Linked DNA regions of Homo sapiens: regions 2, 3, 4 and 5 are each linked to region 1. Evidence: promoter capture Hi-C in 16 types of primary human blood cells and fetal thymus (Javierre and others, 2016). All regions are on one chromosome and are shown on one strand. The core of a region is centred on a gene start or on the middle of the fragment in contact, and the rest is flanking DNA. Distances in the headings are between cores, read along the strand shown.

Region 1 (4,906 bases), core at 561-3,060:
GGAGCCGCGGGCCGAGCAGGCCGAGAAGGGCGAGCACGGCCAAGATGAGCGCGAGGGCGGCGCCCCACGGCGGCATGGCGAAGCTGGAGAGCCCCGGCGGGCAGCGGGCGGCGGGGCCGTCTACTCGGCGAGCTCCGCGCTTTGCCCGCGGCTCCGCCCGCCGGCGGCGGCTGCCCAGGGCCCTCCCGCGCGGGCGCGCTCTGGATTGGCCGTGGCCGGGCAGAGGCAGCCAGTTCGGGCCCGGCTGCCCTCGCCCGCCCCCCACCCCCGCCCCGGCCCTTTGTACAGCAATTGCAACAAGTGGGAGCAGAGGGTGAGAGGAGCCGGGGCCACCAGGGAGGGAGGGCGCGCCGGCAGCCGGAAGGGAGTGGGGAGGGCACGAGCCGGGGAGAGCGGTGTTGGCCATGGAGACGTGGGGAGACTGGAGGCCGAGGCTTGGGGACCCGACTGTCATCAGGGTCTTCCGCCAGACCCTGGGCGCTGCGCCCTCAGAGGCCGATGAAAAGAAGCAGAAGGGAGAGGTGAGTAAGTCGCAGCTCCGGGCGCCGGCTCCCGGGACCCCGTGGGGCGGCGGCCGCGCGCGCGCTCTGCCCTCGGGCGGCCCTGCTCTCCCCCGCCCGGCCCCGCAACCCCGCAATAACTTGGCTGGGCGGGGTCCGGCACTGGGCTAGAGAGGTCGAGCGCGGCGTCTTGAGCCGCTGGCGGGAGGCTGCTGCTTCCCCGCCTGCATCAGTGCGGGTCCCGTGGACTCCTCGCCCCCGTCCCCGCGAGCTCGGGGCTCCACATCAAGGAAATCCTCAGCCCGGGAGTGGCTTCCCCAGAAACAGCAGCCCCAAGCCTCCGAGAGTCAGTCGGAGAAAAGGACACACTCAGGCGCCCTGCGACAGGGATGCCCGTCCGACCTACAAGGAACGCCTCGTAAACCGGGGTGCATGGGAGACCACGGAAATAACACGTTCTCGCTGTTTCCAAGCTTTGGGATAGGCATCTCGACCCTCGCTCTCTACCCACGTTTCCCCCCCAAATCCTGGAGAGGGAACCAGAACCAGCGCCCCGCTGCGGGGCGGGCCGGCCAGCGCACCTCCTGGGGGTGAGGCCTGTGGCGTCCCCATCTCGCGGCGACCAATCTCTTTCTAGACGCGCGCCTGCCACCGCTGGGCGACGGCGGAGGTGGGGAAGACAGCAGCCTCTCGGCTAGCTCCGGCCTCCCGGGGCTTCTGGGTTTGGAGAGTTTGGGGAGCGGAGACACCTCCCGAGGCTCCTCCGCGTTGGACCCTATTTGCGAGGGCGGGAGCGGGGTGGGCCGACGGCGAAGCTCCAGAGGTGGGACCCTCTCCCTTCAGCAGCTCTTCCTGACTTCATGATTCTGCCCCTCTTCTCATTGCAGGTCACACCGACAAATCTGAAGCGGGTTTGCCAGGGGAGTGTACCCGTCTCCCCAGCCTGGGCCACCCGGTCCACAGGGATTCCATTTCCGGCCTTACACTCCGCTCCACGATCTCATCCAGGCGCTGCAGCTGTGCAGCTGCTCTACAGACTGCAGGGACCTGCTGAGACGAATCCCCGGACGAGGAAAGGGGCCCCCCGCCTGCCCTACTGAGCCTTGCGCGCTGACCCGGTTCCTACACTTAACTTTTCCGGCTTCGGGTTTAAGACGCGTGCGCGCACACTCCGCTGCTGTGGGCGGGCATTGGGGCGGGGCGATACCGGGGGCCCACTGTCTGGGGAGGGGCGCGCGCGAGCCCAGGGCCAACGGACGCGCGGGCGGCGCGGGCGGCGCGGGGGCGCTGGGGCTGGAGGGGCGGGGCGCGCGCGCTCCCTCGCTGGCGGAGCGGCTGGGCGGCGGGCCGGGCCCGGGGCCGCTTGGAATGGCGCCTCCTCCGCCTTCGCCCCAACTGCTTCTCCTGGCAGCCCTCGCGAGGCTCCTGGGTCCCAGCGAGGTAAGGTGACCCGCTCCTGGGAAGGCCTCGGCCCGCGAGCTCAAAGCGCTTTGCCAAAAGTTCGTCCTGGAAGGAGTGGCGCGCCGAGGGGGACGCGGAGTTCTTCCGCTGGCGGGCTGGGCCTGGGGAGAGAGAGGGCAGGGCCTCGCCGCGTCCAGCGCCCCAACTCTTCGCTTTGGACCCACAGGTGATGGCTGGACCGGCGGAGGAGGCGGGAGCCCATTGTCCCGAGAGCCTGTGGCCTCTGCCTCCGCAGGTAGGAGCCCTGGAGGGCCCAGGGAGAGAGGGATGTGAAAGGCTAGCCCAGTCCCGCTCTGTTCTCGCCGCACCCTCCACAGTCACCATCTGAGGACCTCTGCCGGTTCCTCAGTCCTCAGTAGCCAACTTCTCCATCCCAGCCTGGCGCTTGGGGCCTGCCGTCCCCTCCCCACCACACACACACGGAGTCCCCCAACTGCCCTAAGCTCTGTTCTTTCCCCATGTATAGGTGTCACCAAGAGTGACCTACACACGAGTGAGCCCAGGGCAGGTGAGTACAAGCAGGGGCCCACCACCCTTGGTGTCCACGCCTGGAGACAGGCGCTCCTAGCAGGCTTCGCTGCCTGTTCTGCTGATCGGCCCCATTCCTTACCACTTCCCTCAGGCAGAGGCAGGGTTCTAGTTCTCTGCCCCACCTCCAAGCCCAGGACAGATCAGCCCCAGGACAGATGGCTCAAAGACAGTGAGCCATAGGCCTGTCATCTGCAATGCTGTGTCAGGATGCTGTTGGGTAGCTGGCTCTGTGGACAAGTGGCTGTGAGTGGAACTCTCTCTGAGAGTAGCTGGAAAAAACCCAGGCTCCAGCTCCCTGAGGAGACAGCGGGAAGTCTCCTGACTTTGTGGGCCCCAGCTTTCTGTAGGAGAGGGTATTAATTCTGTCTCTACCTGTGAGCAGCGAGGGAGGGTATGTGCCAGCACCGTGTACAGTACAGAGCTGCATCGTGCAAGGAGTGTGCCTCCAGTTGCCAGGCTCCACACTGCGGGCTCAGCTTGCGTGGTAGCATCTCCATCTTCATCGCCAGCTCCTCTGAATTTTCCTTTGAAATACTTATTATTATTATTATTTGAAATGGAATCTCACTCTGTTGCCCAGGCTGGAGTGCAGTGGCACTCACTGCAACCTCTGCCTCCAGGTTCAAGCAATTCTTATGCCACAGCCTCCCGAGCAGCTGGGATTACAGGCGTGTGCCACCTAGCTTAGCTAATTTTGTATTTTTAGTAGAGACGAGGTTTCACCATGTTGCCCACGCTGGTCTTGAGCTCCTGACCTCAAGTGATCTGCCTGCCTCAGCCTCCCAAGTGCTGGGATTACAGGTGTGAGCCACCATGCCTGGCCTGAAATACCTAACTTAAATTGGCCAGGCATGGTGGCTCACACCTGTAATCCCAGTACTTTAGGAGGCTGAGGCGGGTGGAACACCTGAGGTCAGGAGTTCAAGACCAGCTTGGCCAACATGGTGAAACCCTGTCTCTACTAAAAATACAAAAATTAGCTGGGCGTGGTGGCACACCCCTGTAATCCCAGCTACTTGGGAGGCTGAGGCAGGAGAATTGCTTGAGCCCAGGAGGCAGAGGTTGCAGTGAGCCGAGACCATGCCACTGCACTCCAGCCTGGCGACAGAGCGAGACTGTCTCAAAAAAAAAAAAAAATTCTCTGTAATAGCTCCAGGCCAAGAGTTGTTGCCTCACGCCACCTATCAGATTCCTTTCCTCAAACAGCCCTTTCATGAAGTCATTCCTCTGTTCACAAACTGTCAATGGCTCCTTATTTCCCACCTTATCGTGGCCATATTCTCCGGCCTGGCTTTTCAGGCCTTACTTAAGTAAGCTTCGTCTGACCTCTCCACATCCTTGGTTCCTCTCCAGTTGTGTCGGGCTGTTTGCCACACAAATGAGTGCCAGCCTCGCCCTTACCACAGCCCCTTTGCTCCTGTTTATTCTCCTCCACACCTGGCCTATCCTGACTCGGAGAGTGCAGCTCCCTGCCCTCCTGCCATACTCCCCCAGCCATCTTCCCAGTCCCAGCTGGCATCAGCTCCCCCTGAGACACTGCCCGATGGCATCAGCCTTTATTCCTCCCCTCCTCCTCTGAATCTATCTCTGATAATTTAACAACTAATCACTAAGTTTTATTAGTTTGCTGTTTTATTTGCATTAGTTGTTTCCCTGAGTTTCTCACACACTCCTTGCAAGCAGAGTCCAGGAGTTCTTTGGCATCTCCCACAGCATCTAGCACAGCACTGAGCACCAAGTCAACTCAATCAAAGAATAATGAATGATTGATGGAGTATTTCCATCCTGAGATTGTGCACCTGCTGCCTGCCTGCCCTGTATTTGGATGCTCTTGGGAGACTGTATAGATTGGATCGATGGTCTTCATTTGGGGGTTGCTTATGGCTTGGATTGTGGACCTGTAGAGCCATCGTTACACCTGCAGGGAAATATGGCTAGAGTGTGGTCTGAGTCTGGCAGGATTATCCAGGCATGCTGTGAGCTTTGAAGGGTGGCACTTGATGGAGAGGAAGGGTGAAAGGAACACTCAGAGGCAAGAGTGGGTACATGCCAATACCCAGGGCCCTTTGTCCTTTCCTGGGCCCTGAAGGTAGAAGAGCCATCCAGCTATCCTGGGAGTACCTTTAAACTGGTCCCCTGGATGGGAGAACTTGAGATTCTCTGGGAGGGCTCTGGGCCTGCTTTGATGTCTCTGTGCCTTTCCTCCAGGCTGAGGATGTCACCTTCCTCTACCACCCCTGTGCCCATCCCTGGCTGAAGCTCCAGCTTGCCCTCCTGGCCTATGCTTGTATGGCTAACCCTTCCCTCACCCCTGACTTCAGCCTCACGCAGGATCGGGTATGTAGCTGATGAAAGGCGCTTGCCTGGCCCTGGCAGAAGGCTATGGCCCCGTGTGCAGGGAATGGAAAATTCAA
Region 2 (5,141 bases), core at 600-3,099, 770 kb after region 1:
TCGTGAACCTTCCTTCTGTCTATTATGCATTTAAAGTGAAGTCCCAGATGAATCATCCCAGCTATAACGGTACTACTTCTAGCTTTTAATTAAACAACCCTGTCTGACTAAGTTCAAAGTACATTTAGTAGTAAGAAATTTTTTTTAAAAGCAACATAAAACCACAGGAAATAGGCTATGACAGATAGAGCAGCGTCAGGGTGCCCTGGGGAAGATGAAACCAGTCTTCCCTAGAGAAACTGATAGAATTTCATTTTAGCAGAATGAAACTTGTCTCATTCTCAGACAGTCCCTACTGAACAAAGTAATTCTTGTTCTGAAAGTTTTTCTTGGGTCATTTTTGTAAAGATGTTCTCTGATAATAGAGAGTTTTTGAGACTACTCCAAATCCCATAGATTCAAATGGTGTGTACGTAGAAAAGCCTCAATTGAAACATGGCCTCTAGTTTAAACCATGTTAATCTTGTCTTTCTCCCACTATTCTCTCTCTCTCTTCCCCTTGACCCAATGGACTAAAAATAATAAATAATAAAGGTGTCCTTTCTCCCTTCTTGCTTTTGCTTCAACTCTCCCTCTCCCTAAGATATTCTCCATTTCCATCTGGGAAAAAAACATATATTCATTACTTCCTTTCAAGAGTACTACTATAAATATAGCGAACCACATACGGAAAACTTTCTGCGCAACAGGGACTGTGCTAAACACTTTACATACATCATTTCAGTCACAATTAAGCCTCCTAACAACCCTCCTGAGGTCGTTTCTATAGATTTAAAGAGACTATGTAATTTGCCTGAGATCCCACAGACAGTAAATGTCAAGGTCGGGATTTGAACCCAGACTCCCAAGACCATGCTCTTAACCACCCTACTCTCAACCACCCTACTACCCAATCTACTGCCTAGATTAATATTCTTTTCCTTTAAGAAGCTGCTGTTAGGCTGGGTGCAGTGGCTCATGCCTGTAATCCCAGCACTTTAGGAGCTGAGGCAGGTGGATTACCTGAGGTCAGGAGTTTGAGACTAGCCTGACCAACATAGTGAAACCCCATCTCTACTAAAAATGCAAAAAAAAAAAAAAAAAATTAGCCAGGCATGGTGGCGAGCGCCTGTAATCCCAGCTACTCGGGAGGCTGAGGCAGGAGAATTGCTTGAACCTGGGAGGTGGAGGTTGCAGTGAGCCAAGATTATGCCACTGCACTCCAGCCTGGGCGACAGAGTGAGGCTCGGTCTCAAAAAATAAAAATAAAAAATAAAAAAATAAAAAAAAGCTGCTGTTAATCTTTTCCAGTCCCTGGCCACTGGGAGTTCTCTCCCCTTAACACCAGTATTAATTTACAAGAGCTGAAATATACCTATACCTACTCTACTCCTCCCCTGTCCCAGGCGTGCCCTGACAGGAGTAAGTTTCATTCATGCCAGGCTCACCCTTTCTGGCAGACAAGCCTGCATCAATCTTTTCGTAAGATGCAATTACTACTAATATTGATTCTTTTGTAATTTTAAATATTTGCCAAAAAGATTTCTATCACAGTGTTGTAACAGTGATTACTGCAGAATGTGGTCAATAGTAGAGTTTTCTCAAGCGCTCTGCACTACAAGTACTCAATAAAAACTGAGAGTGCAGGCTTCTTGCCAGACCTCACCCAGCCCTATTAAGGGGACAAATCTATGTCTTCTCTTTCCCTCCACTCCACCGAGACAGCAACTTTTCAAAATGTATTCCCCTCACTTGGCTTGTTTTTAATCTGTATGACTCTCTACTTTCTATATAAGACAGTCTTACCACTTACCTCTTGAGCTCTGAGAAGCTGACTTCCTTGGCCAACTGTTCCTCTGCCTGAAAACCCTAAATGCTTTCCCTGTTACAATCCTTTATAATACTTGAATTTGAACGCTTTATGACAGCAGGGTCAAATAAATAAGATAACTTGGGTTCAAAGTCTGTTTTTCTTTATGGAGTCTTAGAGAAGATAGTAATTGGGAAAGACATCTTCTTAAGATCTAAGTTTCTATGTCTACCTCGGTTACTAGGTGGGGCCGGATATTACTAACAGGGATGTGTTGTTCCAAGAAAGCTTGAACTTGTGCAAAAATCTGTAGCGCATCTCACTGAATATTGTCATATTTAAGTAAGATGGCTGCGTTTTGATCATCTAGCCTGGGGATTGTGAAGGGACGAGTCCAAAGAGAAGTTTGACTTTAACAGAGGTCAAAACATTGGAAGATTCTACACAACTTAAATAATGCTGGAAAAGTCTTAGTTACCACTAGTAACCCAAGCCCAGTGCATAAGCTGTACCAAGCCAGGCATGGCAGGGAGCCGTTTTTTTGTTGTTGTTGTTTGTTTTGTTTTTTGAGGCAGGGTTTCACTCTGTCACCCAGATTGGAATGCAATGGCACAATTGTGGCTGACTGAACCTCTGCTCCCAGCCTCCCAAGGAGCTAGGACTACTGGCGTGAGTCACCATGCCCAGCTAAACTTTGTTAATATATATATTTTTGGTAGAGATGAAATTTCGCCATGTTTCCTAGGCTGGTCTCTAACTCCCGGCCTTAAGCAATCTGCCCACCTTGGCCTAGGGAACAGTTTTATCCTCTTGAGGCTCTCACCTGATTGGGAGATCCTTGCATTACACTATGTTTATGGTATTGTTAACGATGCAAATTTTATCTGCCAAGTACTATTGTTCCCATTTACACAAAAATATAACAGAAGAATATTTATAGTTATCTACACATTTTAACACACTGCTGAAGCACACCAGCAATCTGCCTCTTACTAGCTATGTAACTTTGAAAAGTTATTTAACCTCCATGAGCCTCAGGATCTTCATCAATACAATGGAAATAGTAATAGTACCCTCCCTACGGAGTCACTGTGAGGATTAAATGAAATGAAGCATGTGAATCTGCCGCACAGTAAGCTCTTGGTAAACAGTAGCTCTTATTACTATTATTATTAATATAGGCTGAGCAGGGCATCCTAAATCAACACAACCTCACTATAGCATTGTTCAAGCAAAAATCAGAGCTAAGAGCAGCTCCTGTTGGCTGGGTTGCAAGCACCACCCAAACAGGTTTTGAGTTTGCCTCTCCAGGGATCCAAGATTGTCATTTTAAAATGAATTTAGCAATGGAGTGATGTTTTGGTTCTTGGTGCCTCCAAAATAGACCCTGAGACAGAGCTTTGAGTGCCAATAGTTTATTTAAAGGTGATCTCGGCCGGGCACGGTGAGTGGCTCACTCCCTTAATCCCAGCACTTTGGGAGGCCGAGGAGGGTGGATCATTTGAGGTCAGGAGTTCGAGACCAGCCTGGCCAATGTGATGAAACCCCGTCTCTACTAAAAATAGAAAAATTAGCCAGGCATGGTGGCGGGCGCCTGTAATCCCAGCTACTTGGGAGGCTGAGGTGGAAGAATCCCTTGAGGCTGGGAGGTGGAGGTTGTGTTGAGCCAAGATTGGACCACTGCATTCCAATCTGGGCGAGAGAGTGAGACCCTTCCTCAAAAAAAAAAAAAAAAAAAAGTGATCTCAGGAAGCATAGTAAGGAAGTAAGATAGGGAAGGGAGGAAACTAGTAAAGAATGTGTTAAAGATTACTACCGTGAGCAACTATATCCCTGGAGCTTTGGACAAGTTGTATTCTGTGCAGCATACCTCAGAATCAACTACTGATAGGGAAGGAAGCAACTTCTCTCCATCTCCGGCTGAGGGACACTCTCAAGGTGTTGACTCTCTGGCACTTTCAGCCTGCCCTGTGAGGGCAAAGTGTACTCTCTCAAGCTGGCCAACATGTCCAGGAAAAGATGCTCAGGAAGTCACTGGCTATATGGGAACTCTTTGCAGGTAACTTCTGGGTAGGCCAAGGATGTGTGAGTAGAGCACCACCAGCAACTTCTACAATTGGATATTAGGTGATATTAGGAAATAATGATTAATTATTATTAGTTGTGATCATGGTATTGCAGTTATGTAGAGAATGTTCTAATTCTCAAGGGATGCCTGCTGAAATATTTATGGGTCAAGTGTCATGATAATTGCAACTACCTTTCAAATGATTCAGCAAGAAAAGTAAACACATAAACACACAGCAAATATAGCAAATGTTAACATTTATTCAACTAAATAGGGGTCTATAGATCTTCATTGTACTATTGTTTCAACTTTTCTGTATGACATTTTTGTCATCAGAATGTTGGGGAAATGTATTCAGCAGATATTTATTGAGTATCTACCATGTGCTAAGTATTCTAAGTATTGAGGATGCCAGTTGCAGCCAAGCCAATATGGTGGCTTTGTCATGAATTAGGGAAAATATGGCTTCTCTAGTCACTCTACTGCCATCTGTGGAAAATTGTTATAATAACTCTACAAAGCTATGATGTCTATAAGATGAATGATGCTTCCAGCTTAATGCTTCCACCACTTAATGCTTCCATAACATTAAGTGGTGATACATAGATGAATAAAACAAGCTCTGCGCTTTTGAAGGTCTTACATCGTAGAGCAGAACGTTAATGATGATCAGGAGCCATGCAGAGTGGCCTCAGGTGCTGAGCAGGGACTTCAGATAAGAAAAATGGTATAATGGCGCCCCTGCTGGAGAGTCAAAGAATTTTGTCATATGACTCGTGCAAGGTCATATAAATCCCTGGAACAGTCCTCTTTCCTAGAACTGACAGAGGGGAGAAATCATTTTTCTGTAAGTAGTTAAGCCCAGTAGTTAACCATTAAGCCTAAGTAGTTTGGCTGTTTGGAGTATTTACAGAGTCCAATACTCCACAGCTTCCACAGTGGCTTAGACCAAGAGGGAAAGAGGAAAAAGCACCCTCGAGTCTGAACATTCCTGGGAATAAAGACCAATCTGGCAGGGTGCAGTGGCTCATGCCTCTAATCTCAACACTTTGAAAGCTGAGGCGGGTGGATTGCTTGAGCCCAGGAGTTCGAGATCAGCCTGGGCAGCATGACGAAACTTCATCTCTACAAAAAATACAAAAAAAAAATTACAAAAATTAGCCAGGCATAGTGGCATGTAGTCCCAGCTACTTGGGAGGCTGAGGTGGGAAGATGGATTGAGCCCAGGAGGTTAAGGCTGCAGTGAGCGTGATCGCACCACTGCAGTCCAGCCTGGGTGAAAGA
Region 3 (5,223 bases), core at 1,109-3,608, 860 kb before region 1:
CAGGCGTGAGCCACCGCACCCGGCCCATAGCCAAGCCTTAAAACCACATTCTGCTTGAGTGAGCCGGCGAGGCAGAGGTTGCAGTGAGCTGAGAGAGCCACAGCACTCCAGCCTGGGCGACAGAGTGAGATTCTGTCTTATAAAATAAATCACGTTCAGCTCCATATGCAAAACCTGTCCTACCAGGCCGGGTGCAGTGGCTCATGCCTGTAATCTCAGAATTTTGAGAGGCCGAGGTGGGCGGATCACTTGAGGTCCGGAGTTTGAGACCAGCATGGTCAACATGGTGAAATCCCTTCTCTAATAAAAATCCAAAAATCGGCCAGGCATGGTGGCACATACCTGTAGTCCCAGCTGCTCTGGAGGCCAAGGCATGAGAATCGCTTGAACCCCAGAAGTGTAGGTTGCAGTGAGCCGATATCGTGCTACTGCACTCCAGTGTGGGCAGCAGAGTGAGACGGCGGGAAGGACAGGTGTTTTTTTGAGGCACAGTCACTTCCTACTGCACCTGCTTTTCAGCTCCAACACTACCAATTCCTCACCCTCTGGTTTTACTCAATCTGGACTCCACAGCCTCCCTTATCCACCCTGGACCCTAAAGTCATGCCGCTGGGACCTCAGCCAGGGTGAGGAACCAAAACTCCTCTGCCTTGCTGTTTCAGGAGCCACCATGAAAGAGACACACATGGCCAGGCGCGGTGGCTCATGCCTGTAATCCCAGTACTTTGGGAGGCCGAGGTGGGCGGATCACGAGGTCAGGAGTTCAAGACCAGCCTGACCAACATGGTGAAACCCCGTCTCTACTAAAAATAAAAAAAAATAAAAAAAATAGCTGGGCGTGGTGGCGCGCGCCTGTAATCCCAGCTACTCAGGAGGCTGAGGCAGGAGAATTGTTTGAACCCGGGAGGTGGAGTTTGCAGTGAGCCGATATTGCGCCACTGCACTCCAGCCTGGGCGACAGAGCGAGATTCCATCTCAAAAAAAAAAAAAAAAAAAAAAAGCACACATGCAGGGTCAGAGCCTGTTTACTCTCCACTCACTAGCTCCCCCAGAGCTCGGACACCCATCAGCTCTGTTTGTGAAGGAGACGAGGGGAGGAAGGACAAAGGGGGAGACGAATTTAGTAACTCTCTTCAGAGCTGAGAAAAGCAATCTGCTCTTTAGTTCCAGAGGACAGGAGGAGACCTCTGACCAGCAGCAGTCCAGAGTTCCTGCAGCAGGAGTGACTGACAACACACACAATGAATGAGGAGGGTGATAGGGTGAAAGAAAGTGGGAGGCTTATGGCGTCTTTCCCCGTGAGGCGTTAATCGGCGCACAAAGGCCTAACTCAAAACTCACAAGTTATGCTCATCTGTACAGAATCCTCCCCGTCCTGCGGGGCCGAGGAGCTCTCCTCGACCTCGAGGCACTGGGGGTGGGCACCAGAGCAGCCGAAAGGAGTAGGGTGGGAAGGGAGGGAAGGAGTAGGGCGGGAAGGGAGGGAAGAAACTAGGAGAGGAAGGAGGGAAGAGGAGGAAGCAAGGGAGGGGCAGTGCGCCCGCGTCTCCTTGGAAATGCCTCTCTGGCCTCGCCGCCGCGGAGGTAATTGTGATGCCACGGGTGGAACCCTCAGTCTCCTTGGTCCACCCTCAGGGTCGATGGAACCGCCCGCTCCCGCCCCGGCGTCCGGGTGGGCGCTGGTCCACGGGCTCCAGCCAAGGCCGGCGCTTCAAGGGCAGCGGCCTGCGCCCGGTGCCACCCAGTCCGATAGCCGAGCGTTCCAGCTCTGGCTGGAACCAGACTTCCCGCCCATCCCGCGGGCGACCCAGCAGGGCCTCAGGACCCCAGTCCTCAATCATTGGCCCGCGGCTCGACGCGAGCCCGCCCCCGGCCCTAGCTCCGCCCCGGCCCTAGCTCCGCCCCGGCCCAGCACTGGGCCCCGCCTCTCTCGTTGGTTTGCCCGTCTCCCTCGTCGGTTTGCCGGCTTCCCGCGTGCGCCGCTCGGGGTCTGCGAGCCGGGCCGCGCCCTCTGCCCAGCCCCTGCCCCGCCCCTCTTACCGCGGCATCTGCTCTCATCCCACGAGCGGGCCTTGGGCTCGGTCTTTTCCTTAGTCCATCTTTCAATTGTGAGCGTCGTCCTGACCCACATCGCTCTCCGCCCAGGTCTTCGTCTCTACAGGACTCTTGCGTGAAGTCCAACCCTGAGCCTCAGCCCGGCCGAGCCCTCGGCCCAGCCGTGAACTCCAGTCTCGGCTTCGCCCCCGCCTAGCCCCTAACCCCGCCTCATGCTGGCGCAGCCCCCGCCGGCCTCCCCAGCCCGGCTCCAGGCTGCGTAGTCTTCCCAGCTGGGTCTCAGCGTCAGCCGCGTTCTTCATCCGGGGCCTCCGGCGCCTCCCAGGCCCCTCTTTATCTCAGACCTTAACCTTACAGGCCCAGCTCTCACCACCCATCTCTGGTTCCAGCTTGCAGTCCAAACCCCAGATTTTCACCCTGCCTCCAGATCGTAGCCCCAATTCTTAGTGTTACAACGAGCCTTGCCCCCAGCCCCATTCTTAGCCCCGCCCCGGCCATTCTCTAAACCGCACACTCCCGTCCCGCTCCCCGCCCCACCGACCCTTGGGAACCCAGCCGCAGCCCCGCCTCTGCCCGCTGGCGAGAGAGCGAACCCCATCTCTACAAAAAATACAAAAATTAGCTAGTTTAGTGGTGCGCACTTGTAGTCCCAGCTACTCGGGAGGCTGAGATGGGAGGATCCCCTGAGCCCAGGGAGGTCCTGGCGTCGCCATTTCCCCTCCACCTTCCGGGCTTCGAGGTCCCTCCGCCTCTGGTGGAGCCCGGGCTTCCCCTTTCTCCGCCCACAGGCCTCTCCGAAGACCTAACTCCGGGCTGAGGACCTGATGTCGGCTCCCAGCCCCTGCGCCACCCCGCAGCGTTCCCGCCCCTGGCCCCCAGGGGACACCCTATTCTAGAGACAATACTGCCCAATAGAGAGTCGTAAGCTTATCCTGATAGACAATCTGGAGAACAGGGCAGGCTGCATTCATAGGAACCTCATCCCAGTGACACCCCTCACGCCCTCAGGTACAACATACACACTCTGCGCATGCATATATCACACACACACAGAATATACTCACCACACACAGACTAATACAACATGCACACGGAACACAGAACTCCCACACCCGGTGCAGCACAAACACCACACCTGGACTGTGGTGCTGGCTTCACACACATCTGTTAACAGGCAAGGCAAGGGTGAGGAGCCCAGTGCTGCGAGGGAACAGAAATGGAAAAAACAATCACAGGAGAGTGTGAAAAGAAGTTATGGCCATATCGACGACATTCCATGCACCACACCCCTCCATTTCTCTTGGCACCAGCTTCCAAAGCCAGGATGAAGAGGAGGAGAAAGGATGGGGTCCACACCTTGTTTTCTCCACCATCATCCAGGGGCTCTGCTGCTGCTACTATTGCTCTGCCTGATCCCCACCTTCACTTTCCTCCAGACCCAAGTCCGGAGTGGGTAGGGCTGCTGCCCAGACCCTCCTTCCCGTGGTAGCTCTAGAGAGTCTAGGAACTGCGAGGGAGGGGAAGCCAGGAGAAGGGAAGTGTGCAGAAAAACCAACCATCCTGGTGAGAATGGAACCAGGAATGGAACAGACAGAGCACTTGGCAACTGGGAGCCAGAATCTGCCTTCTAACTTGGACACCCCCTTAGCCTCCCAGGATGACACGAGGCCATAAGTCCTCCTTTGTTGACCCAGATGTCTGAGGTGCTTCCAGCTACTCTGGAACTCTGGGTTAGATGTCAACAGGGAGCCAGGGTCTTGGTCACCTTTCTTTCTTATAAAAGTTAATGGCATAAACAACCAAAAAAACAAACAAAAAAAAAAAAGAAAGAAAAGTTAATGGTTATAACTCCTGAGTTCAAGCAATTCTCCTGCCTCATCCTCCCAAGTAGCTGGAGTTACAGGCATGCACCACCACGCCCGGCTAATTTTTGTATTTTATTTTATTTATTTTTTTTTATGAGACAGAGTCTCGCTCTGTCACCCAGGCTGGAGTGCAGTGGTGCCATCTCGGCTCACTGCAAGCTCCGCCTGCCAGGTTCAGGCCATTCTCCTGCCTCAGCCTCCCAAGTAGCTGGGACTACAGGCACCAGCCACCACGCCTGGCTAATTTTTTGCATTTTTAGTTTCACCATGTTAGCCAGGATGGTCTCTATCTCCTGACCTCGTGATCCGCCCGCCTCAGCCTCCCAAAGTGCTGGGATTACAGGCATGAGCCACCGCGCCCGGCCTAATTTTTGGATTTTAATGGTGACGCGGGTTTCACCATGTTGGCCAGGCTGGTCTCGAACTCCTGAATCCAAGTGATCTGCCTGCCTTGGCCTCCCAAAGTGCTGAGATTACAGGCACGAGCCACCGCACCCTGCCTGGAAAAGTACTTCTTAAAGGGAAGGCAAGAAAAGGGTGAAAAAAAGAAAAAGATTCTCCAGTGGTGAAAATTTGGGTATAAGCACCAAGTAGGAGGACACGTGTGGGGAAAGGATCAGGGGAAAGGGCTCTCAAAGCCAGCCATTCAGACTTCACCCAGTGAGGGCCCAGTGCAGCCCCCAAACTGATGTTTCAGCTCCCAGCCTACCTGAACCTGCCCAGGGGCCAGGGATGGCCAGCACAGCATCCCCAGGGGACTCTAGTGCCAAAATGGCCACACAGTCATGCCCATTCCACATCCATCATCCCCAACAAAGAACTCCAGCCCCAAAGTGCTCGTAACAAAGAAATTTTAATGCATAAGGCACAGTGAGAGGCTGGAATCATTAAGCATCCTCAAACACAAAGGGCCCAGCAGGCTGAGCAAAAGAACAGAGACACTCTCCCTCACTACCACTGGGCGCCCTGGACAGTCCCCTGAGGAGTAGGGGGCATCCAGTCTTTGGCACGGTGCCTGGGGGCAGGAAGTGACTAGCATGATCCCAGCTACCCCTCTGTGGGAATACTGCCACCAAGAGGCAGCTCTTTGGTCTGGATAAAGTCAGTGCAAATGTCCAGGGGTCAAGCTCTGGAGGAATGAGGGTGGCACAGTGCCCTAGGGCTGGGCAGTCTCTGAACAGTCTCCTCAGCCCTCATGGGCAACATGTGGGCTTCTTCTTGCTGGCAGTTAGGTAGAGGTTGCTGTCATCACTGTTGATGCCTAAAGAAGGGTGGAAAATATGTGAAGCAGGGATTGGAGGCT
Region 4 (5,109 bases), core at 1,432-3,931, 810 kb after region 1:
ATTTCTTGGTGCTAGAAACATTTCAAATCTCTTTGAGCTAAATGAGGTGATGGCTATCCAGAATGTCCTGGTTTGATCATAATATATTGTATGCATGTATCAAAATATCAAATGTATCCCATAAATATGTACAATTATCATGTATCAAATACAAAAATTAAAAAAAAAAATCCAAGTCATTGCCACTCTGCTTCTGTGAACAGGAAGCCTTTTTACCTTCAAGCCTTTCCCAAGTCCCTTCCATTTGTAAGGCCACACCTTTTCCTTGGGGAAAGAGGAAAGAAACACCTGTCATAAGGTTCAAGACTTCTCAGACACAATTGGAGGTATTCAGCTGTAGGTAAACACAAACCTGTAGGTAAACACAAAAGTGACTGAGGTCCAGAGCTTTGGGTTTCACTTATAACCATAAGCAACTGTGTACCTGCTAAGGAAGAAGGCTGCAGACCTGAAAGAGGCCCACGGAAGGCCTGGGGATTTCTGAGAGGACACCGGCTCAAGTTACATTCCCATATTATTTCACCACCCTCATGCTTGTTTATTTACATTTCAGGCTGCCTCTCTAGGCGAGGCTGCAGGAGTGAAGGGGCTGGAAGAGGTTTCAAAGGAGAGTGAACGTGGTAGAAAAGGAAATATTTGATTAGAAGTTAACATGTCCTCTGGGGCTTCTTTGACTTGGATTACTGTAAAAGTGCATGGTGTAATAGTTGAGCACTCCCGGGAGGTGGTGGGCGGTCTCTCTGTACAGAGTTGTGGCTTTGTTTCTGATGAGTTGCAGCTGCTGTGCATAATGTAGACTAGATCAAATGGGGCATGGAGAAGAGCCATTCACAGGACCGGAGTGACGGTGCTCGCTCTGATGGCAGAATACTAAATTAATCATCTTCACCTAAACCTGTGCTTTCTCCTGGCCTGTACCTCAGTGAATACCTGCAAGTTGCTTAGGCTGTAACTTGAAGTCAGCCTACAATCCTCTTTGTCTCCAGATCCTGTCCACTTTCCTTTCCGAAGGTCTTTCAGATCCATTTCCTTCTTTCCACCTCCACTGGCACTGCCCTCATTCAGAGTCTCATCATGTCTTCCTGGATTGCAGCTTCCTTCCAGGTCTCTCAGCCTCAAGTCTTAGGCCTCCCATTCAATTTTCCGTGTTACTGTCAGAGGAATTTTTCTAAACTAGCTTAAAACCCGTCTGTGGTTCTCCATGGCCTTCCAGATCAAATGTGCTCCCTGAAGACTGGCCTGTGAGCCCCTTCACACCAGTAATCCTGACCCTGCATGCAATTCCCAGAACACAAGGCATTTGTTCTCAAATCCTGCGGCTTTCTTTGCTTGCTTCTCCTCCTGCCTGGGATCCTTCCCATCCTCCATGGTTTCTCTCCTCCTTTCCTCCTCCTCAAGTTCAGATATTTCCCTCACCTGTACCCCCTCTGTTGTAGCATTTATCACAAACTACACTGAATCTCTTGACTGGGCAGAAGAATGAATTGTTTCCCAGCATCTAGCTTTGACATAAAAGTTGCTCAATAAATACTTGACGAATGAATGAACTCTATTAAAGTAGGGTTCAGTCATAGTTCAGGGAAGGGGCCCTGAAATAGCTGGCTCTGAAAGAAGGTAATGCCGGTTATTGCGATTATGTTGTTAGATGGGTAGAATTTCGCATTCGATTAAGGGATAGTTTTGGGTTTCTTCAAGCTAAAGAAACTAAAGCCTATAAAAGGTGATTTAAAAGACCTCTTCTCTAGACTTGATGAAACGCTGTAATTGCCATCTTTGGCTGACACTGAGGAGTTCAGGAATGCCAAGCAAGTGTTTCCAGAAATGTCAAACCTGCTGTTTTAAAATATGTCATTCCAGGGCACAGTTAAATATACAACTTGCTCCGATGAGGTGGGAGAAGTGGGCCGGTGAGCTGTGAAATGAAATCTGCCTAATGAGGGTCGAGGCCAGCACACACAGGGACCTATTTGCAGTAAAACAACGTGGGGTGACGCCTAAGAAATAGACAACATTAACACAAAGGGAGCCTACTACGTAGCACATTTCCGCTAGGCATAAAAGAGACACCTTTCCAGAAAGCAACTCTAAAAATGAATGCACCGCCTAGTGAGGTGCGAGCCTTCCTCCCCACGAGGCGTCCCGTGCAACCGCACGCGGACAGCGGGGCTCCAGCGGAGGCGGGGTGGATGCGGAGACAAGGCGCCTAGGAGACTGGGCTAAGGCTTTGAGTGTCCGAACGAAGATTCTTTCGAACCTATTGATTTTTTCTAGTCTTATGATTCTTTCGAACCTTTTGATTCTTTCCATTCTCGGTTCTAAGCATTAAAGCGCAGCTGAGAAAGGCAGCAACAAAGATGGGAAGAGAACTAGCAGGAGTTCTCAGAGAAAAATGGGTGATAATTTAGGGGAGAAGCCATAAAGAAGAGACTAAGCGAGAAGCGGAGCACACGCAGAAGACGAAACAAGGAGGAGGAGAAGAGAAGAAGAACCTTGGCGAAGGAAGAGAGTGACCAAACTCGTCCCGGACGGGAGGAGGGCAGGCCCGCCCAGAGGGAATCGGCTGCTTTAAGGGAAGCCCCGCCCCCTGGTGGTGACGCTCCACCAGGCCCGTCCGCGATTGGCTGCGGCCAGAGGGCGGGATGGGGTTGCTAGGCGAGGAGGGGATCCGGCGGGCCCCCGCCGCCCGGAGCGCTGAGCCGCGGGAGCGGAGCCGGGGTTAGCGGCGCTGCTGGAAGATGGCGAGCGGCCGGGACGAGCGGCCGCCTTGGCGGCTAGGGCGGCTCCTGTTGCTCATGTGCCTGCTGCTGCTGGGGAGCTCGGCCCGGGCGGCTCACATCAAGAAGGCGGAGGCGACTACCACAACTACGAGCGCGGGCGCCGAGGCGGCCGAGGGCCAGTTCGACCGCTACTACCACGAAGAGGAGTTGGAGTCGGCGCTGAGGGAGGCGGCGGCCGCGGGCCTCCCCGGCCTGGCCCGCCTCTTTAGCATCGGCCGCTCGGTGGAAGGCCGGCCGCTGTGGGTGCTTCGCCTCACCGCCGGCCTGGGGTCGCTAATCCCTGAGGGCGACGCGGGGCCTGACGCTGCCGGGCCCGACGCTGCGGGGCCGCTGCTGCCCGGCCGGCCCCAGGTGAAGCTGGTGGGCAACATGCATGGCGACGAGACCGTGTCGCGCCAGGTGTTGATCTACTTGGCCCGCGAGCTGGCGGCCGGCTACCGCCGCGGGGACCCGCGCCTGGTCCGCCTGCTCAACACCACCGACGTGTACCTGCTGCCCAGCCTCAACCCCGATGGCTTCGAGCGTGCCCGCGAGGGCGACTGTGGCTTCGGCGACGGCGGCCCGTCCGGGGCCAGCGGCCGCGACAATAGTCGCGGCCGCGACCTCAACCGAAGCTTTCCCGACCAGTTTAGCACCGGCGAACCCCCCGCCCTGGACGAGGTGCCCGAGGTGCGCGCCCTCATCGAGTGGATCCGCAGGAACAAGTGAGTGTTGCCTGCCCCCTCCCCGTCCGTGTGAGCCTCCAAGGGCCGAGGCTGGTTCCGGCACCCAGTAGGCGCTCAGACAATGCTGGCATAAGGGGTGGCGGTGGTGAAGGTGAAGGGAGACACCCTGTAACGGGGACAGGGCCCAGGCCGCGTAGCCTCCCGTCCTGCTAATCATCAAAGAATTGCCTCCTAGAGGCTGTCATTTGTTCAAGGGATGGCTGGAGGGGACACTCCTTTCTGACATTTCTGGTCCCTATTCTTACAGGGGCATAGAATATGAGCGAGAAGAGATCTTAAGGATAACCTAGGTCAGCTCACACATTTTATAGATAAGCTGTCAATGTTGTTATCTTATATCAAAAGTGCCTAATGTTATAGGCGCTGTGCTAATTTTTTCTGTGACTGCAGTATCTCACTTTATTTTGGCCACAACCTGATGTCATAGACACCATCAGTTTTGCATACGGGGAAATTGAGGGTCAGATTGGTTAACTGATTTACATAGGAGTGTGGCTGGGACTTAGAATTAGGCAATCTGATTCCCGATAGTCCTCTTAGCCACGGAGGGACACTGGAGCCCAAAAATGGCAGATGATATTCCCAGGATCTTCCCCTTGCCTATTTGACAGAAGCTGATTTTTCTCCAATTTTTACCTCTGACTCAGCTTAAGAAGATATGGACTTAGCTGGAGAACTTGCACAGATCTGTGAGCCGCTTCATTTTAGACTCTGAAGGGTTTGTGATGTCATTTGTGCACCTTATTAGCCTGGGCAGAATGGCTAATGGTCACACTTCTAATACACACTTTAAGTGTTATTAAGCATTGCATGAGGTTTAAAAAATTACAAAGTAGAAGAAGGAGGACCTCAAGAAATTAGTATAAAACAAGAGAATGTTATAAATATTTATGAGGTATGTTGGTGTACCCAGTTAAACTTTACAGGAATTGTTCCCACTGGCAAGATGTGTGTGGGCTGCAATAACACGGACCATCTCTGTGGAAGAGGTAGAGCTTGAGCTATCTCCAGAGATGGGCAGGATTTTCAGCAAAAAGGAGAGGAATAAAATAAGAGGGAACTCACTCCAGATGGCATAGTGTCTGAAGTGAGCAGGCATCTCTTCCCCTTTTCTAGCATCAGCTTTTCCCCATTTTTGTATCTTCATAAGGCTTTTGAAGCAATAACTGATCATTCCATCTGGATTAAAAGAAGATTTCTGAGGGACTGCTAAGATAAAGAAGTTTCCCTGCGGGACTTGGAATCATTTCTTCTACAAGATTTCAGTCATATATAGAAGATCTAGAAAATTCTTGAGTGTTAGGACAGTTCCTGAGTCTTTTCGTCTTCTATCTTTTACTTTACTCCTCTTGATAAGCTCTCTTGTAGATATATAATTTCACATAGACTTTCTGGGAGGATTTTTTTTTCTTTTAAATACGATCGTGTCATCACCTCTGAACATCTGCGTAAGAAATATGACTTTGACATACACTTATTGACAGAGCTGTGATGGCCAGGGCTTTTTGGAGATGATACAACAAATGCACCGTTTGCATTGCTTAAATGTTTAAAATGCTCTGTCCTTGCACCTTTAAAATGCTGTGATCCTTGCAGGGATGTAAATT
Region 5 (4,788 bases), core at 1,191-3,690, 920 kb before region 1:
GTGGCTAGAAGGGACAAGGCAATTGGAAATGTCTAATCTTAGCATCTCCTCCAACTGCACAGAATGAGAACTTAACACCTTGATAAGGAGGCCCTGAAGCAACTCTGAGGCAAGAATAGGACGGCTAGATCCTCTGCTCCCCAGTGCTTACCTTTTCCCATCACTATCCAAAAGAAATCTGCTTCTACTGATCTGAATATGCCATAAGGACTCAGAGGTATCCACCTTGAGAACCATGATGTTTATAGCATCTACATGAATGGAGAATAGCTGGAAGGAAGAAGCAAGGATGAACAATAATTAATGTTAAGGAACTGCCCTTCCTTTCCAGATGAGAAAGAGGGGCAGCTCTTAGCATTATGCCCTAAAAACAGAAAAATCTACCCATAACTCCAAAGCCAACCATGCCAAAGTACAGTCCAGGATAGCAGGAGAAGTTGTCTCACTTGGCAGAAGATCTTCAATAAGGATGGGCTGAAGGACAGTTCCTTTTGATCCACCCCAGCGCTCTGGGAGAATGGGGCAGACAGGTCAGAAACTTTCTGTAGGTCCGTTCTGATACGCACTTCTCCAAAGCACAATGCCACATAGTGTCTGCCCAGAAGAGAAATCTCACTGCCACCAGGTCCATCCCTCCCATAGCAGTCTATTCCCCACCCTCACATTCACTTTCTCATCCTTCCTAGAAATATAGCTCAAATCACAGAGATTAGTTTCATAGCAGTTATCAATATCTTCCTCACAACACAATGGCACCCAGGCTAACAGGAAGACTTCAGCAACAACCTCCCTTCCTCCTTGGATTGTGATGCCTCTGCAGAAGAGTGTCACTCTGCAAACACCAACTCCAAAGTACTCTTCTAGGGGAGAAGTGAGAATATAGGGTACTCACGGAAGATCATGGCTAAGGAGTTTGCTGGAAATCCACAGGTTATCAATTTCCTAAAACAGTGAGGGAGAAAGCTCTGTGTGCTAGCTGCTAAATAAGCCACGAGCAGCTTGACAAGCCAGGAAATGTTCTGGATTATTAGAATTTCTCTTTCATAGCCATGTTGCCTTGAATCCCATCTTAAATTAGAACAGTAAAATCTTCGATTTCCTGTTATCTTTCTTCTGTATCTTTGTTATGTGCCCTGGACACTCTGTGTCCTACAAACATTTTTAACTGAACAACTTGCAGCGTTCTCCAACTAGCTCTAAGATCATCTTGGCAAAGAAATGGCAAGGCTGGGATTAACTAGAAAAGCCACCAGGATTTCTATTTTTAAAAAAAGGAAATTAAGAGTTTAAATTCAATTGGATCAACCCTACACACATATCCAGAGTTTCCCAGAACTCACCACTGTTTGCTGGTGTTGCTGAAACTTAAGACTGACATTCTGGATCCAAAAAAAGCGGAAGGAGCCAATCTTTAGCTCCGCCTGCAGCTTCCGCTGACACCACTTGGTGGCCAACCGGACCACAAGCCACCTGCAGAAAAATTCCTGTTAATTCATAGGACCTTTTTCCAATGATGGTTTCCCTCACCCCTTGCTGGTCTTTCAAAGCCTTGCAAAAGGTCGTTCCTGAAACTGGATCTGAGCAACTCTCCTTTCTTCCAAAGCACCACTCTGTCATATACATTCAGCCACGCTGATCAAGATCCTAGCTCCCGACTGACCCCTCCACCCAGATGAAACCAGAAACTGCACCCTCTAAGTTGAAGACAAAAACAAAATCCCTCAAATTGTTATGAATCCCAGAGGCAGAGAGAGAAGACCCCAGCAAGAGTCAAAGCGGAGGCGGCTCTGTCACATGTGCCATCACACTCCCCAGAGGGTCTGTCTGTCTCCTGCTCCCACCCTCCAGACAGGTATCCACGAGAAGGCACTTTGAGGTCAGACCCGGCAGCTCGAATGCTGTTCTCCCCAGACCGATGCTGCAGGTGCCCATCGCGCTTGGCGAAAGGGACATGCAGGGGTGGGTGGAGGGGGAAAGGGAAGCCACTGAACCAGGCCCCTTCCTCACACTCCTATTCAGTTCCTGGCCTCAGCATTTCCTCAGACCCCGCCCGCTTCCTCAGTCTCCCCAACTCGCAGCCCATCCCTGGGAGCTCGGGCCACGCGCCTCCTCACGATCCCTCCCCTCGCCGCGCGCCCCCTCCCTCCACCCTACCCACTCTGCCTCACGCGCCTCAGTAAGGCGCGCGCCCCCTCCTCAGTCTTTCTTCCTCCTCTCCGCCCCCTCCCTCCCGCCGCCGCCGCCGCCGCCGGCGCGGCCGGGAACCCTCACCGGCCTAGAAAGAGGGCGCTAAGCGCAACTAGCAGCAAGACCAACAGCGCGGAGAAGAACAGAGGCATTTAGGTCCGGGTCCGGCCCGGCTTGGCCCCGGCCCCCGCCATGCCGGGCCCCGACGCCGGATCCGCGCAGCACCGCCGCGGGCCGACCAGCTGCGCGCGCAGGAGCAACGCTGAGCGAGGACGCGCTGGTGCGCACACGAGCCCCGCCTTCCGCAGCCCGCCAGCCAACCAACGGCCTCCCACCCCAGTCCCGCCCTGTCCTACGACGCTGCAGGGCCGACGGGCTGCGTGCGCGAGGAGCGGGCGTGGTTCCGGGAGGAGGGCGAGGGGGAGCGGACCAAGAGCTGAAACACGCCCCGGGCGCACACCACGGTGCCCGGAACCGCGGGGCTCGGGGACCCGCGGGGGTCGGAGTCCGGGCCCACTACCTGGGCTGGCGGTGGACCTGGCTGACTCATTTCGGTCCGGGGAGCTCACTTTGAGGGGAGTTGGAGTCCGCCTAGCCACTTAGGCCTGGACTCAGGGTTCTGCGGAAGTTACACCCCTGGTCAGACGTGGTAGCACTCCCATCTTATTCAAGATCCTGTTTGAAAATTACTGAGGCAGAAACTAGGAGGTAATTAAAAGGCCTCAAAAATCTCGCCTCATTCCATCCACAGAGGAAACTAATGAGGTTTTGTTTTTTTTTTCTTTGAGACAAGGACTCGCTACGTTGCCCAGTCTGGTCTCGAACTCCTGCAGGCTCAAGGGATCCTCCTGCCTCAGCCTCCTGAGTAGCTTGGACTAAAGACGCGTGTCACGGTTCCTGGCCAATGAGTTTTTACTTCATTTACTGTTTGAACACTGTTCTGGTCCATCTACTTATGGCACGAACTGGGCCCTGATGGAGGAGAGGAGGAGATACTGCAGAAGTAGTGAATATTGTTCTTGCCCTTTAGCAAAAAATAGTTTATCTGGGAAGCAAACATAATTACATAAAGTAGACAATACATAGTCAGTTTTGCCTGCTTCCTTCTGTGTAGTTTATCTGGGAAGCAAACATAATTACATAAAATAGACAATACATAGTTTTGCCTGCTTCCTTCTCTGTAAAATGAGAGAACAGGACAAAGGTCCCTCAGCGTTACTGTGCTAAGGATCAGTATCTGAATGATGATCTACTGATACAGCACAAGCTAAGGAAATCCTGACGGTTTCAAAATAAGTATTATGGAGGAGGTCATGTCTCTTTTCATACCCCTTCGCTCCCACGTCCTAATCTCCATATATATCCTTCAAGATTTTACTCAGAGCCTCTCTTTTTGGCTCCCTCAGATAAAACACCATTTCATCTTTCACCTGTGTGTTGCCCGAAGTTGCTTTCACTCCTCTGATTGTTTCCTCCCTTATCTATTCCTCTCTTCAGTGATTTCACATCTCCCCAAGAGCTCCAGCGCTGCTGTTTCAAGGTCATACTTACCTCTCAAGCACTGTATTTGCGTCATCTTCCTCGTCATCTGCAGCCTTCCCCCAGGGTATGTCCTCCGAATGCTCTGGGAAGGCCCAATTCACTGAAAACCTCTGTCCAAGTCAAGGAGGGGTGCCGTGCAACACGTATCCCTACTCTGGTTCATCTTATCCAATCTGTTTATTGAACCAAGATTCCTGTCACTTCCTTCCTTCTCCCTTGACTATTACCGGCCCTACTCCCAGCCATCTCATAGCCTAAAATGTTGATTTTATGATTTGTCTATTTCTTTCTGGAGAGATCTTAAGGGATCAACACAAGTGAAGTGGAATAAAGGCAGGGAGTCGGGGGTGGGGGGTGGTTGAGGCAACAGTGGGGCTCAACTAATTCATGGCCTCCATTTATTGAGACCACAAGCCCTTGTAAAAGAGACCAAGTCTTTTAACGTCACGGGCCATGTTTGGCACAGAAATGGTGTCTCTAAATGTTCAACATTAACAAAACAAATAGAAAAAAAAAGAACAAAACCCGGAAGTTTCTAAAAATAAAAAAAGCCTGCTAGTCACTGAAATTCCAGCAGATGGCAGCCATCTCCGTTCACCAATACCATGATTGGAAGCTACAGGAGCAAATTTTCTGCAATTGACACAGGAAAGGAGGAAATCAGGTAGGCAGAGGACAAAAGTAGTTTTCTATCCACCTTTTTAGAGAGATATATCTACGTTTGTCCAAAAAACAGGATTTGTTTTCCAAAAGCTAAACACAATCGTAGTGCACTTAAAAAAACCTGAGTCAGAAACAGCTGGATTCCTATTCCAAAATGATTTATTAGTTTTAAGAATTCAGGCCGGGCACGGTGGCTCACACCTGTTTTCCCAGCACTTTGGGAGGCCAAGGTGGGCGGATCACAAAAGGTCAGGAGTTCAAGACCAGCCTGGCCAATATGGTGAAACCCCATCTCTACTAAAAATACAAAAATTAGTCAGGTGTGGTGGCGGGTGCCTGTAGTCCCAGCTACTCAGGAGGCTGAGGCAGGGGAATCACTTGAACCTGGGAGGCGGA

What was found. Contacts are between HindIII fragments. The CHiCAGO score rates a contact against its expected background, and 5 or more counts as called.
Region 2: the fragment with the promoter of TMIGD1 here is called in contact with the fragment with the promoter of TP53I13 in region 1 in 9 of 17 cell types (naive CD8 T cells, neutrophils, naive CD4 T cells and 6 more); the score reaches 9.6 in naive CD8 T cells.
Region 3: the fragment with the promoter of PROCA1 here is called in contact with the fragment with the promoter of TP53I13 in region 1 in 1 of 17 cell types (total CD4 T cells); the score reaches 6.1 in total CD4 T cells.
Region 4: a contact is called between the fragment with the promoter of CPD here and the fragment with the promoter of TP53I13 in region 1, in 5 of 17 cell types (erythroblasts, non-activated CD4 T cells, M0 macrophages and 2 more). The highest score is 8.7, in erythroblasts.
Region 5: the fragment with the promoter of BLTP2 here is called in contact with the fragment with the promoter of TP53I13 in region 1 in 2 of 17 cell types (naive CD8 T cells and non-activated CD4 T cells); the score reaches 12.4 in naive CD8 T cells.

What each region holds. Positions count from the first base shown.
Region 1 is chr17:29,566,891-29,571,796 of GRCh38, forward strand. TP53I13 (tumor protein p53 inducible protein 13) reads left to right here and starts at 1,811. Exons shown (of 7, transcript NM_138349.4): 1 at 1,811-1,940; 2 at 2,128-2,196; 3 at 2,428-2,469; 4 at 4,701-4,829. The coding sequence starts at 1,869. ABHD15 (abhydrolase domain containing 15) reads right to left here and starts at 147. Exons shown (of 2, transcript NM_198147.3): 1 at 1-147. The coding sequence starts at 76. RefSeq lists silencers at 1-337, 428-687, 1,688-2,047 and enhancers at 1,218-1,267, 2,351-2,851. The HindIII fragment of the contact is 2,834 bases long and covers 972-3,805 here.
Region 2 is chr17:30,332,208-30,337,348 of GRCh38, forward strand. It overlaps TMIGD1 (transmembrane and immunoglobulin domain containing 1), which reads right to left and starts at 1,850. Exons shown (of 7, transcript NM_206832.3): 1 at 1,793-1,850. The HindIII fragment of the contact is 5,890 bases long and covers 1-2,075 here.
Region 3 is chr17:28,709,530-28,714,752 of GRCh38, forward strand. It overlaps PROCA1 (protein interacting with cyclin A1), which reads right to left and starts at 2,359. Exons shown (of 5, transcript NM_001366301.1): 1 at 2,041-2,359. The coding sequence starts at 2,131. It overlaps RAB34 (RAB34, member RAS oncogene family), which reads right to left. Exons shown (of 10, transcript NM_031934.6): 10 at 4,755-5,181. The coding sequence ends at 5,114. RefSeq lists enhancers at 1,024-1,799, 1,800-2,575, 3,134-3,213 and a silencer at 1,594-2,093. The HindIII fragment of the contact is 5,904 bases long and covers 1-2,979 here.
Region 4 is chr17:30,376,246-30,381,354 of GRCh38, forward strand. It overlaps CPD (carboxypeptidase D), which reads left to right and starts at 2,682. Exons shown (of 21, transcript NM_001304.5): 1 at 2,682-3,481. The coding sequence starts at 2,736. RefSeq lists enhancers at 408-697, 948-997, 2,268-2,437, 2,583-3,510 and silencers at 2,488-2,727, 3,028-3,157. The HindIII fragment of the contact is 3,432 bases long and covers 1-3,389 here.
Region 5 is chr17:28,642,718-28,647,505 of GRCh38, forward strand. It overlaps BLTP2 (bridge-like lipid transfer protein family member 2), which reads right to left and starts at 2,441. Exons shown (of 39, transcript NM_014680.5): 1 at 2,272-2,441; 2 at 1,341-1,470; 3 at 893-942; 4 at 447-594; 5 at 152-270. The coding sequence starts at 2,339. RefSeq lists silencers at 2,238-2,577, 2,598-2,827. The HindIII fragment of the contact is 8,883 bases long and covers 1-4,788 here.